Regions from separate parts of the Homo sapiens genome. Here region 1 is linked to region 2. Evidence: promoter capture Hi-C in 16 types of primary human blood cells and fetal thymus (Javierre and others, 2016). All regions are on one chromosome and are shown on one strand. The core of a region is centred on a gene start or on the middle of the fragment in contact, and the rest is flanking DNA. Distances in the headings are between cores, read along the strand shown.

Region 1 (6,113 bases), core at 2,385-4,884, 390 kb before region 2:
TAACTTTTTAAATGTTTTTCTGGGAAAGTTTCTTTTTTTATTTTATTACATTTTTGTTTTATTTTGTGTTTGCATGTATGTGTATAGATACATGAAATCAAAAAAGCTGGAGAATTTTAATTTTCTCTCTTCTGGGAGAATTTTGAAATATAATATTCTTGCTCAGTAATTTGTTTATTTTGTATCCACTCTGTCTTTTCATCCCAATTCATAATTGTTTCATTTCAAATTTTGTATTATTTATATAAAAACCATCCGGTTTTTTGATATAACTTCCATTTCCTCTTCATGTCACCAGAATCCTCCTTAAAATTTCTTGGAGGATATTTATTATGTTTCTTTTAAAATTTTATAAGATAATTAACACTAGGAAGCAAAGGATAAGTGTAAATAAGAGTTATAAATATTTCCATGAATACTTAGAGAAGATCCTGGAACAGTCAAGAAGACAATAAGGAAATGGTAAATTTGAAGGATTTAGACCAGTTGTGGAGTTGGAATGATCTGTAGAAGAAAGAACATTCCGGTAAGGAGAATAGTGAAAAAAGATTTCTGGAGGTAGTAGGGAGTATTTTATAGAAATTCAAATAAGATTGTTTTAAGCAACATCATCTACTGTGAGTAAGGATAGTATTTAGAAAGCTAGCTTGTGTAGAAATGGTCCACAACAGTCAACTATGGGAAATGTGTAAATAAAGGATGATTGAGAGAGTTTCTGAATGGACAGTTGGGCCAGATTAAAGTAAGATTTCACAAGTTAGTGGTCAACCAAGGTATGTGATCTTAATAACATTTTCTAACAATACCAAAGAGTAAATGGGCTTGTCTGGGAAATATAGTCAGCAGAGAAGGCGAACACCAAAAGAACACTGAAATAAAAGGTGCTGTCCAGAAAATGTGACAGTTGTTCTGTTTTTAATAATAGGAAAATGATGAGAAAACAGGAGGAGATAGTGGGGAAGATGAGAGCGAATATGGACAGGAATGAGTAAATATGATGGGTTAATCTATGTTGTAAGGCACAGATAATAGGGCTGGACACAGTAGGAGGTAAGTATGAGATGTAGCACAGAACACATTGGTAGACGTTTGCAAATAGAGGAGATTAAGGGGCATCTGATATAACTGTCCCAGTTGAAAATTTGGTGTGGCTGGGCCTCTAGACACCACCTTACCCTCATCACCCCTGACAGAGGAGAGGAAGATGTTTTTTACTCTTGGGACTCCGGGCCTTGCTGGTAATAAGGTCCTCTGAGAATGTAAACTCACTGGGGCTTTCAAAATACAGGAGGAGAAATGTTAGATCCTAAGATTGCTCAAGAACTGATTAAAGCTTTGTGTTTCCATGGCTATAGATAGCATCCTTGTCCTCAGTACATCTTTCATAAATACATGACTATGTCAAAAGAGGGGTAGGGTAAAAATATATAGCTGAATCACTTCAAGATGTTACTATTTATTGGAGAGAAAAAAGCAAGTAAAAATACATATTTTTATGTTTCCTACGTCATATTCCTATGTGAAGGACACAACAATATTGCCTGCATTTCTTCCTGAAGAGCTTGGCCTGAATTGACTTCTCACCAAAGTCCTAAGGCTCTTTTTACTGATTAGTCCTGCTCTGTCTTCTGTTGTTGTCTTAGACCTTGATAGTTTTTGTGTCCTCCTACAGCATGTGTATATACAGACAGATTTCTGTTAAAATGAGTGGTGGATGGGCTACTGACCTTTATGTTGCCTACTCTGGATACCAGAATCTGAATAACCATAAATATATGAATATATGAGTATATGTGGTAGCATTTTTTAGAAATTCATCATATTTTCATTTGTCGATGGTAACCTTATCCACTGTGGGTAAAGAAACAAGATTCTGTGCTGTGCATTGTTGCTGCTGGTTCATTGTCTTGTCCACTGAAGCTTCCTATTCTGATTCTGAGGCCCTTTTTAGTAGGTCTTGGGCTTTGTTTTATCTTTTTTATTCTAAATATTGAGTTCTATATTTTAATACCTTGTCTTAACACTGCCACCTGGACCACTGAAGGCTATTGGATATGCTACAGTTCATTTCTCTTATCTGACTGCACTATTTCTGCAAGCTTTTCTGTAGATATCAGACCTTTAATGCCTTTCAGCAATAATTAAAAGGCATTAAAGGTCTGTAGTGGGCAATTGTGGTTTGTTATTTTGTTACATACTGATAATGTCTATCCTTTTTACGGTAAAAAATTTCCTTCTGAATATCACCCCTTCCCCAACTTAGACCATAGTGTTTGACTAGAAGTGTCCCTGCTCCCAGCTCCAGGAATCTTCCATGATTAGTGTAAGCCATAGTGATTAGTCTAAGGTTAAATACATGGCCCAATTCTGACCAATGAAAATTAGTCTCAGGATGTTTTTGCCACCTTTGGGATACAAAAGTTTTCACCTTCCTTCTGGACTCTAGGTAAGTACTGATGCAGCCATCTTATGAATACTGTCAACTGGTGACAACAGTAAGGCTTCTGCTGACAAAGGGAGGCACAGGAGGGAGAAAAAGCAAGCTGGTCCTAGATCAAGGTTCACTACAGGAGCACTGAAATTCCCAAGAGATCCCAAAAAGCCAACTGACTATATTGGTAAAAGCATTAAATATTTTCTTTACCAAATGGCTTAGGAAAATGCTATTTAATTATTTTATGCTCAATATTGAGTTAGTTGCATTTATGTCTAATCTTGACAACTAATCTTTGAAGGAAAAGAGTATAAGTTTATTCATATACACCTGTGTGAGACAGAGATACAAAAAAGCACAGTGCTTTGTACAACATAGTGGTACAACATTTGTTGACTTAAATTGACATGTATCCTAATTTTTTCCACAAGGGTCACTGAGTCTATCCTTATTCTGTATTTATAAATAATGTGAGTCATATAGCTCAGTGGAAATACAGCAGCTCTAAAGTCCACGCAATACTTACTAAAGCTTTGTTAAAGAACGTTGTGTAGGAAAACAAGATTGTACATATATATAAACTGTGATCTTGAATCATTGCTTTTGAGAGCTTTATAATAAGTTCTCAACTTGTCTAACATTTTATATCTCTTTATCATGAAATTCTTGCAAATTCGGATGGAAGGCCTCCATTAATGAAACATTTGTAATAGTGAGAGTGGGAAAATGGAATAGAAGATTAACAAAAGGTCTGGGTTAGAGTATGAACACTATTGTCCAACATGGAGTGTGGGAAGCACTGAACAATGAAGAAGCCCTGATTAATTAACTGGTTATCACCAAGGCTTTATCCAGGGATGATAATTATTTGGGCACTTATTTCAAGAAGGCGGAACTTGCTAATCTGGTATGAACACTATTGTCCAACATGGAGTGTGGGAAGCACTGAACAATGAAGAAGCCCTGATTAATTAACTGGTTATCACCAAGGCTTTATCCAGGGATGATAATTACTTGGGCACTTATTCCAAGAAGGTAGAACTTGCTAATCTGGGTGGAGGGATGTTCACAATGGCCTGGAATACTTTCCCTGTGCCCCTCCCGTTCCCTGTTTGGTTAGTCATTCATGGAGTAGTGGATATAACACTGGCTAAGGTCATGTCCTCAGTTCATGTTCCCACCTCTGCCGCTTGTTTGCTGAATTGGCTAGGGCAAGTCACTTCATCTATTTGAATCTTATATTTTTTCTGTATAGAATGAGGTTATAATATAAAGGCTCAATAAGATGGTGGTGGTTAAATGTTTAAAACCTAAAACTTAAAAAAGTAAAGCATACTATATTACTTTATTTGACTTTAATTTAATTTAAAAATTAATAAAAGTAAATCTAACCATCAAGTGCCTATCGTGCTAGGCTGGTGGGAAGTTTTTAAACATGGAATCACTCATTACTCCTACTGCCAATATCTATTTATTTATATCTTGCTGTTATGAAAATTTATACCTTGTATAGGTTTAATTAAATGTCTTCTTAATTAGAACTAGATTTTCCCAGGAACATCAAAAATTTTTTAAAAGACAAGTTAGACACACAATTATATAAAGATAAAAGACACAAATTACAAACTTTCTTTTGACTAAAAGAATTGAAAGTTGGGCTACATTTTTGTAGATTTTTAAGAATTCTTTAGAACTTCCTATATATAATATCATGCCATCTGTGGATAGTTTTACTTCTTCCTTTCCAATCTGGACGGCTTTTACTTATTTTTCTTGCCTAATTGCCCTGGCTAGACCTCTAGCACAATGTTGAATAGAAGTGGTAAAAATGAACAACTTGTCTTGTTTTTGACCTTGGAGGAAAGCTTTTCAGTCTTTTATCACTAAGTGTCATATTTGCTGTGGGTTTTTCATAAATGTCTTTTATCAAATTGGATACATTCCCTTATATTTCTATAATATCTATTGAGATGTTCGTGTGTTTTTTGTCCTTTATTTAATTAATATGTATTACATTGGTTAAGTTTCATGTGTTGTACAAATTTTGCATTCCTGGGATAAATCCCACTTGGTCTTGTTATACAATCCTTGTATGCTGCTGGATTCAGTTTTCTAGTATTGTGTTGAAGATGTTTGCATCTGTATTCATAAGGAATATTGGTCTGTAGTTTCCTTTTTTGTGATATTTTTGTCTGGTTTTGATGCGAGAGTAATACTGGCCTCATAAATTGCATTATTTAGTAGTATTCACCCATGATGCCATCTGGGCCTGAGCTTTTTTTTTGTGGAACTTTTTTGATTACTAATTCAGTTTATTCAATAATTATATATCTATTCAGAATTTTTATTTCTTCTTGAGCTAGTTTCAGTAGTTTGTGTCTTTCTAGGAATTTGTTAATTCCATCTAAGTCATCTGATTTGTTGTATGCTATATACAATTGTTTATAGTATTCCCTCATTATGCTTTGTTTATTTATTTATCTCTGCAAATTCAGAGTAATGGCCATTCTACTATATAGACATATAAAACTAAATGCAGTAATATTTTCTTCAGTTTCTCAGCAATAGGCAAGAGTCTACTCAGACATTCAAAGCACATGATTGTTGATTTTATATTCAAGCTCTGAAAATGGGATACAATTCTTCCTCAAACACTTTTTCCTCTATCATCCTGCATTAGTTAGGATTCAGTTTGCTCCAACAGGACACATATACCCTTGCCCAGTGTTTTCAAGCAAAACAGACTTTTAAAAACATTATTCCAGCTAGTTAGTATCAAACATTGATGGGTAGGAAATTGAGAGCCAATCCCCACTGCTGGCTCCAGGACCAGATCACTTCTGCCATGATCCATGCCAGGAGAATGGATATCCCATGTTCCACTGTTCAACACTAGAGAATGAGGAAGCCATCCCTGGGACCTCTGCTACAGCTGTCATGGAAAAGCCAAATGCTTTCCATGACTGTCTTTTTTTTTTTTTTTTTTTTTTTTTTTTTAGATGAATCTCAGTCTGCTGCCTGGGCCGGAGTGCAGTAGGGCAATCTCAGCTCACTGCAACCTCCACCTCCGATTTCAAGCGATTCTCCTGCCTCAGTCTCCCAAGTAGCTGGGATTGCAGGCACCCGCCACCACACTCAGCTAATTTTTGCATTTTCAGTAGAGATGGGGTTTCACCATGTTGGTCAGGCTGGTCTTGAACTTCTGACCTCAAGTGATCCGCCCGCCTAGGTCTCCCAAAGTGCTGAGATTACAGGCATGAGCATGTGCCCGGCCTCCATGACTGTCTTTACCGGCAGAATCCAGGTTTTTACCTGCCCTAGTTTTATTCATTTCAAGACAATACTGCTGGGGCACACTCAGATTTACTAATTTTAAAATTAGAATTTATTTTAGTCACTATGACTTGAGCCACTTAGAAATGTAAACGAACTTTGAGAGTAATTTTCTTTTTTTTTTTTTTTTTGTTCTTTAATTTCCTCATTCATTTATTCAAAAATATTTATCAAGTGAAACACTATTATAAAAATATAAAAACTTTGTTTTAATAAATGATTTTTTTTTTATTATACTCTAAGTTTTAGGGTACATGTGCACATTGTGCAGGTTAGTTACATATGTATACATGTGCCATGCTGGTGTGCTGCACCCACTAATGTGTCATCTAGCATTAGGTATATC
Region 2 (6,466 bases), core at 2,525-5,024:
GTCCCAGCTACTTGGAAGACTGAGGCTGGAGGATTGTGAAGCCAGGAGTTGGAGGCTGCAGAGAGCTATGATCATACCACTGCACTCCAGCCTGCAGACCGAGCAAGACCTAGTTTCTAGTCTTGAAAAAAAGAAAAAAATTATTTGGCTCATGGTTCTGGTGTCTGGGAAGTTCAAGAGCCTACCACTGGCATCTGGCAAGGGTTATTTCTTGGCAGAAGGACAGAAGACAGAAGCAAGCTCTAGAGACACAGAGAGGAAATGGGGTTAAGCTTGCTTTTATAACAACCCACTTTCTAGATAACTAACGCTCTCCTGTGGTAATGACATTAATTCATTCACGACGGCTCTGCCTTCATGACCAATTACCTCTTGTTAGGCCTTGCCTCCCAACACTGTTGCTTTGGGAATTAAATTTCCTACACGTTAACTTTTGAGGGACACATCCAAACTGTAGCATAATGTTACTCAATTTAGTCACAACAACCTTCAGTTTTCTTCTAGTTAAAATTTATGATTCTTTTTTGGTACCACATACAAGTGTATGGTACCTTTCCAAAACTCAAGACATTAAGAAAAATTTAGTGTTCACACTTTTTTAGGTTTCAGGGACATCTTTTCATGGTGCTGTTGCTATTGTAGAATCAATGCTGAGGATAGATGTTTTAAGAGCAAGAATCTGACACCGTTACTCTCCATTTTATTTTAACAAACTTTTTTTTTTTAATCACACCAACTAAATCTTTATTCTTTTCTGCTCTGGAAACTTGGTTTTATATTCAATTATTACAAAAGCCCTCTGGTTCTCTGATAACTGAAGACAAATATGTTTCAGGTTATTATTATTTTTTTTCTATCAATCAGGCTTTTAGTCTACCATGGTGCTTGGAATCAGTCATCAATAACCAAGGCACAATTAAAAGAGTTCGACAGTATGTATAAATACTGACAGTATGGTAAAATAATTAATTAATATACAGTCATAATTCAAGTCTTCCCTAAAAACAAGGCCCACTCAAGTACATACGTTTAAATGCAATAACTAGAGCTTGCTTTAGACATATCAATGAAAAAGATTCCTCCAAAAGCAAATCTGAAAGTAAGGAACAATGTATTTTGAATAATTTCTTGTTTGTCAAGACAGTGCAATATTTTCTAGAATAAGTAAATCAGGTGCATGGTAGTACTTTAATATCAATTTTTTTGATTTTGTTATTTATTTTTTAAAGACTGGATTTAAACTCCTGATATAAAGCAGACTTTTAATTTCCCGTTTTTCAAAGATAATATTGAAAGGTCGCTTTCTAGCTTTTAAAGTTTTAAGAAATGACTCATTGTACTATCACTGTCTTACAGGCTTCAAAATCAAATATCCGGTCAATACTGTGCATTTTGATTTGGCAAACATGTATCCTTTTTGTGTGTTGTAATGGAACTTATTATTAAGAACTTTTTATTGCTAGTTCCTATGTTTTAGTTAGTAGATCTTCAGAACACTCCATTAAATAGATAAAAAAGAACATTGCATGCTTTAATGAAATACACTGAATGTGTCAATTGTAACAAAAATATCTGACCAAGCTTCATAAAATATCTGGAAAGTTTCTCATCTTATTGATTTCAGATTTATCTTTAAAATTTTATTTATATACTTTCACCATTTTCTAATTAGTAAAGAAGCCTACATTCAGAGAGGGGCATTCTCAAGGCTGCAGCCTTGCTCCCCAGAAAGACAGCATGCAACCAAATATTTGAGAGATATGCCTAAATAAGGATCCCTAAATAAGGATTGTTTCAGACTAAAACCAAAAAACGTTTTCCTCTCCAGCGATCAAAAGCTGTGGAAATTCTCGTGCCCAAAGAGACAGTGGCAGAGCATTTGACTGAGAGCCCTGGATGGCTTAAGGGTGGCTGGAAGCCTGTGTTTGACAAAGAGCTGAATGCTCCAGGAAAATGCCAGGGCCCCACCTTCTGGACTGTGGGCCCAGTGGATCTGGTCTGGCATGGTTTCAGCCCTGGTTCTAAGGAACCCTGGAAAACCTACTTAGTCCAGTTCCTTGTGAAGCACAACAAAAAGTCAAGTAAATTCTAGGCTCACCATAGAATTTTTGAACATCTCAGATCAGCCTCAGAAGTGACTTTCATTCAAGACATATTTAATGAACACCTACTATTTTTCAAGGCCATGGAACTCCCAATTCCCCCAAAAGAGAGTTTTTGTTTTTATTGATTTATTTTCCCCTAGAGAAGTTAGAGATCTTCCATGGGAAGTCAAAGGTATCAAAACTCACAGAGTGGCTAAGTGTTCCTCTCCCTGCTGTGAAAGCTAAACTTACATTTCTTAGAAAGAGGATCATGTCATCATTTACTGTGTTCCTTAAAGTCTCCGAATATTGCCACTACATGATTTTTTTTTCCCATAATGCCTTTTGTTCTTGTTTTTTAAACCTTTTTCCAAACTTGAATCAAAATCTACATAGGGGCCGGGTGTGGTAGCTCAAGTGTGTAATCCCAGCACTTCAGGAGGCCAACGCCGCCGGAGGATCCCTTAAGCCCAGGAGTTCAAGATCAACCTGGGAGACATAGCTAGACCCTGTCAAAAAAAAAAAAAAAAAAAAATCTGCTTAGGAACTATGTTCCAAGGGTTTCCTGCAGAAACAGGAATCGTTTCCATGGTGTGTGTGTGTAGTCTGTAATTTTGTCAAACTTTTGTGTGTGCTTTTAATGGTTTATGAGAACATCAATTAAGAACATCAAATGGTTTCCGAGAAAAGACCCTAGAGTAGAAAATTACCATAAATATCAAGAGAAATGAGTAGATGACCCCAGGATCACTTTGAAGGATGAAACAGGCTTTTAAAGGTCCTGGGCACACTGCACAGCCTAACAGCTTATTAAAAACACTAAAACAAGACTTGTGACTTTATTGCATTGTTGTGACACCAGATGCTATTGTTTGGGTGTCCCCTCCTGTCTCCCACAAATCCACTTCCGTATGTCTGAAAATCCGTAATACGTCTAATGATTATCAAGCAAGGGAGGTCTCAGGAATATTGTACCTTGAGAAGTATAAGAACTTCCCAGAGGTTATGTTACCATAAAATATCTAGTTTCTAGTGCTTAAAACATTAAATTGTTTGCAACATATTTTTCCGTACGTTAATCAACATACTTTGCGATCCCTTATTAAGTTCTAGCCTCTGCAACAAACGTGAAAAAAAGCAAAGACGCATAACTCAAATGTGAGAAGCACGGAAATTTCCTAGACCGCAGGGTTCGTTCTCAGTAGTCGGCAATAAGCTGGCTTTCAGAGTCAGGAACTTGATAAAGTTGTTTTGGAGGATGCCCCAGCTGTGTGAAGGTCCATTTCGTTTTGCATCTGAAGAGAAGCAAGCGAGACTCCCCTACAGGGAGTAATGGTTCAGCGGGGCAAGGTTTGAAAACCCAGAGCTGGACAAAGGCGGGAACGCACGCCGCCGCGCCGGGGCTAGGGGTGCTGACGGCCCGCGCAGCTCGCGGGCCTCCGGGTTTGAGGCCCTGGGGTCAGCCCTGCTCCGGGCTTCGCGCCCGGGCGCGGGTCAGAGCCGCCAACTTCGGGCCAATCAGCGAGCGGCGTCCCGGCGCCCGCAGCGCCCAGGCCCGCGCCCCCCGCGCCCCCGCAGCAGGAATGGCAGGAACGGATCCGGGCCGAGCCCGACCCGGGACGAGGAGGGGCTGAGCCGCGGGGGATCCTGGAATCGGCAGGGAGGTGGGGATTCTGGGAGGAAAACTCCATTTCCTCCTTCCCTGCCGGTTTCTCCCCTCTACCCTGGCACCCCAAATTTCGATGTGCCGCCTGCCGGGCGCTAAGCGCCGGTGTTGAGAGAGGCGGCGGCCGCCGCGCCCGGGAAAATGCTGGGCATGTACGTGCCGGACAGGTTCTCCCTGAAGTCCTCCCGGGTTCAGGACGGCATGGGGCTCTACACGGCCCGCAGAGTGCGAAAGGTGGGTGACCCGGCGGCGGCCTGCGCGCCCCTGCACCTCGCGCGCCCTGTGCCTCCCGGAGTCGCCCTGCCGCAGGGCCCGGGGCGCGGCGGGCTTCACCCCGGTCGCCCCTCGCCCGGGCCGGGCCAGGCGTCCGTGGGAAGGCCGGGGACCGCGGGGCACGGCGGGGGTGGCCTTTACTCGCTGCGCCACCCGAGCAGGCAGCGCCACGTAGGTGGCGGCGGGGTGCGCTCCGCTGCCGGCCGGTCCAGGGGCGGAACTGCCACCGGCCTCCCTGCCGCAAGATGTCTTTCCTCTCTCCCGCAGGAAGTGAGCGCGGCGGGAGCCTCCCTCTTCCTCGGTTACGGGTGTGAGCTGCGTCTTTGCGTTGGCGAAGGCACGCGTGGGCGGGTGTTTTCCCCCGCGCGCACGCTGCTCCGCTGTCGCCTCTTTTCCTTTAGGATGAATTAATGTGGCTAGAAACGCCTAACTTTCCATGCGGGGATGGGAGGAGCAGCCCAGAGCGCCGCTCCACGCAGGCCGTAGAATCTCATTCATACGCCCAGGATTTCCTTCCCTCCTTCTGGAATGTATTATATGTGCCTTCAGGGAGGTGCCAACCAGATGATCTTTGAGTGTCTATACCTTTTTTCTCCGCTCTTTTTTTTTTTAATTTGTCTCCAACATCGGTTCGATCTCTCCAGCCAGAAAGTTACAGGCATGTGATGAGAGGAAGCACATTGCTCAGTTCGTACAGGAAGGGCCTGAAAGTGTTGGATGTTGAAAGCAAAGGCCTAGGAAGAGAGGCCACAGGAAAAGTCCAGCTCTTTGGATTTGATCTTATAATATTATAACTTGTTAGAGTCGTCCTAGCCGTCCTCGCCCCCTTTTCTTAGTAGATATTTTGTAAGATGGAGGTTTGGGCAAGAACAGGCTTGTTCAGGTAAGGTATGTTAACAAGAGGTTCAGAGGATGCAGTAGAGACACTAGGGTGCCTTTCATCTGCATATAACCCTCTCCCCTTTGCCTCTGACCTAAAGAGCTGGTGAAGAGTAGTAGAAAGTGCTAGTAATCCCCAAAAAGGGCTCCACTGACAACATGATCTCCAGTCATCCTTCAGGGCAAAATTGGAGAAAATAAACCACTTATTTATTTTTTCAAGTGGGAGTTGGCGAGAATGTTCAAATGTTAAAAACAGGAATAAATAATTTATCTGAATTAGAGGTGTATTGAATAGTTGCCAAATGGCCAAATGTTAAAATCAACATTTTTTGAAGGCCAAATACAACCATCACCAAATGACGTCTGTACAGAGTTGAAATTCTCCTTTTAATTCATTCTTAAAAGATGTGAAAAATTCTCAAACAGACCTTCCTTAAAGGTTTCTGGCTTAAATTTAATTACTTTAAAAATTAAACACAGATCTTAAAAATCATTTTATTTAATGTTATGAAGAGTACTGTAAACAACTCTGCAAAGATTAGAATTATTATATAATCCTTGTTGTTTCCTTATATTACCATATAGATTTTTAGAAACAGCTGGCCAACCTACTTTCTTTTGAGATTTTTATTAATTTCAGTTTATTTTTTTCATGTGTTTGATTCTTTGTAAGTATTTTATTTTTGGGCATGCAATGAAATGAACAGCTTCCAAAATCATCATATATTATTGCATCACTTTACTATTGCAATGATAAATGCTTATCTTTTCCTGGCCAGTTTAACTTTAATAAATAAAACACATACAGATTTTCATCCAGATCATATTTAGAATGCTTCGCTGTATTTCAAAGTGAATGTGCAGATGTTTGCTATGAATCCAAACTATTATCGATGTTTAGTTATGATCCCAAAATATTCAGTCACAAGGTCATGGACAGGTTTGTTGATCTCAGAAATGACCTTAAAGCAAGCTTCAGTTCCTTTTCCTTCCAAAATCTGAGGACGAAGACAAAGCTAAAGCCAAACAGCAGACTTTAGCTGAATTGTGAGGCTGCAGCTGAGTATCAAGGCATCCCTTACCTGCTTATGGAAGGCAAACAGTCCCTCAATTCTTAGGTATTTTCCAAGTAACCTTGTACTAGGCCTAATTCTGGACATAAATCAAGGGATCTGAGAAGAGAGATTTATCAGCAGCTACATTAAGAACCTTACTTAAAAGTTTTTATGCTCTCTATTCTAAACAAATTTTGGAAGATACCACTTTTAATACATGTGTTGGAAATTACAGATGTTTTGCCACACTTTTATAACACATATGCTTGTATAACACTCCTGTTTTAAAAAGTGCTTGCAATTCAAGCCATCTGTTGATTTCAAATTCAGAGAATCTAATCCAGACTGAGGTTGGGGAATCTTGCTAGAAACCCCACCCTCATTACATTCACCAGGTTGAGATGGGATTTTCTTGCTGGTGGTACCTCTTAATCCTCTAGTCCTACCCCTTTTCGTGCAGTGCTTCCTAGAGTGGTGGTGTCTTTGCAGCAGAATCACCTAATTCC

What was found. Contacts are between HindIII fragments. The CHiCAGO score rates a contact against its expected background, and 5 or more counts as called.
Region 1: a fragment that was not itself captured here is called in contact with the fragment with the promoter of PRDM5 in region 2 in 1 of 17 cell types (activated CD4 T cells); the score reaches 7.1 in activated CD4 T cells.

The regions. Positions count from the first base shown.
Region 1 is chr4:121,310,891-121,317,003 of GRCh38, reverse strand. No RefSeq gene overlaps it. Among named protein-coding and RNA genes, the nearest start is that of QRFPR, 67 kb to the left of the region's middle. The HindIII fragment of the contact is 1,334 bases long and covers 2,968-4,301 here.
Region 2 is chr4:120,920,034-120,926,499 of GRCh38, reverse strand. PRDM5 (PR/SET domain 5) reads left to right here and starts at 3,774. Exons shown (of 16, transcript NM_018699.4): 1 at 3,774-3,984. The coding sequence starts at 3,892. It overlaps LOC105377399 (a long non-coding RNA gene), which reads right to left and starts at 3,564. Exons shown (of 2, transcript XR_001741804.2): 1 at 3,173-3,564. The HindIII fragment of the contact is 4,297 bases long and covers 1,584-5,880 here.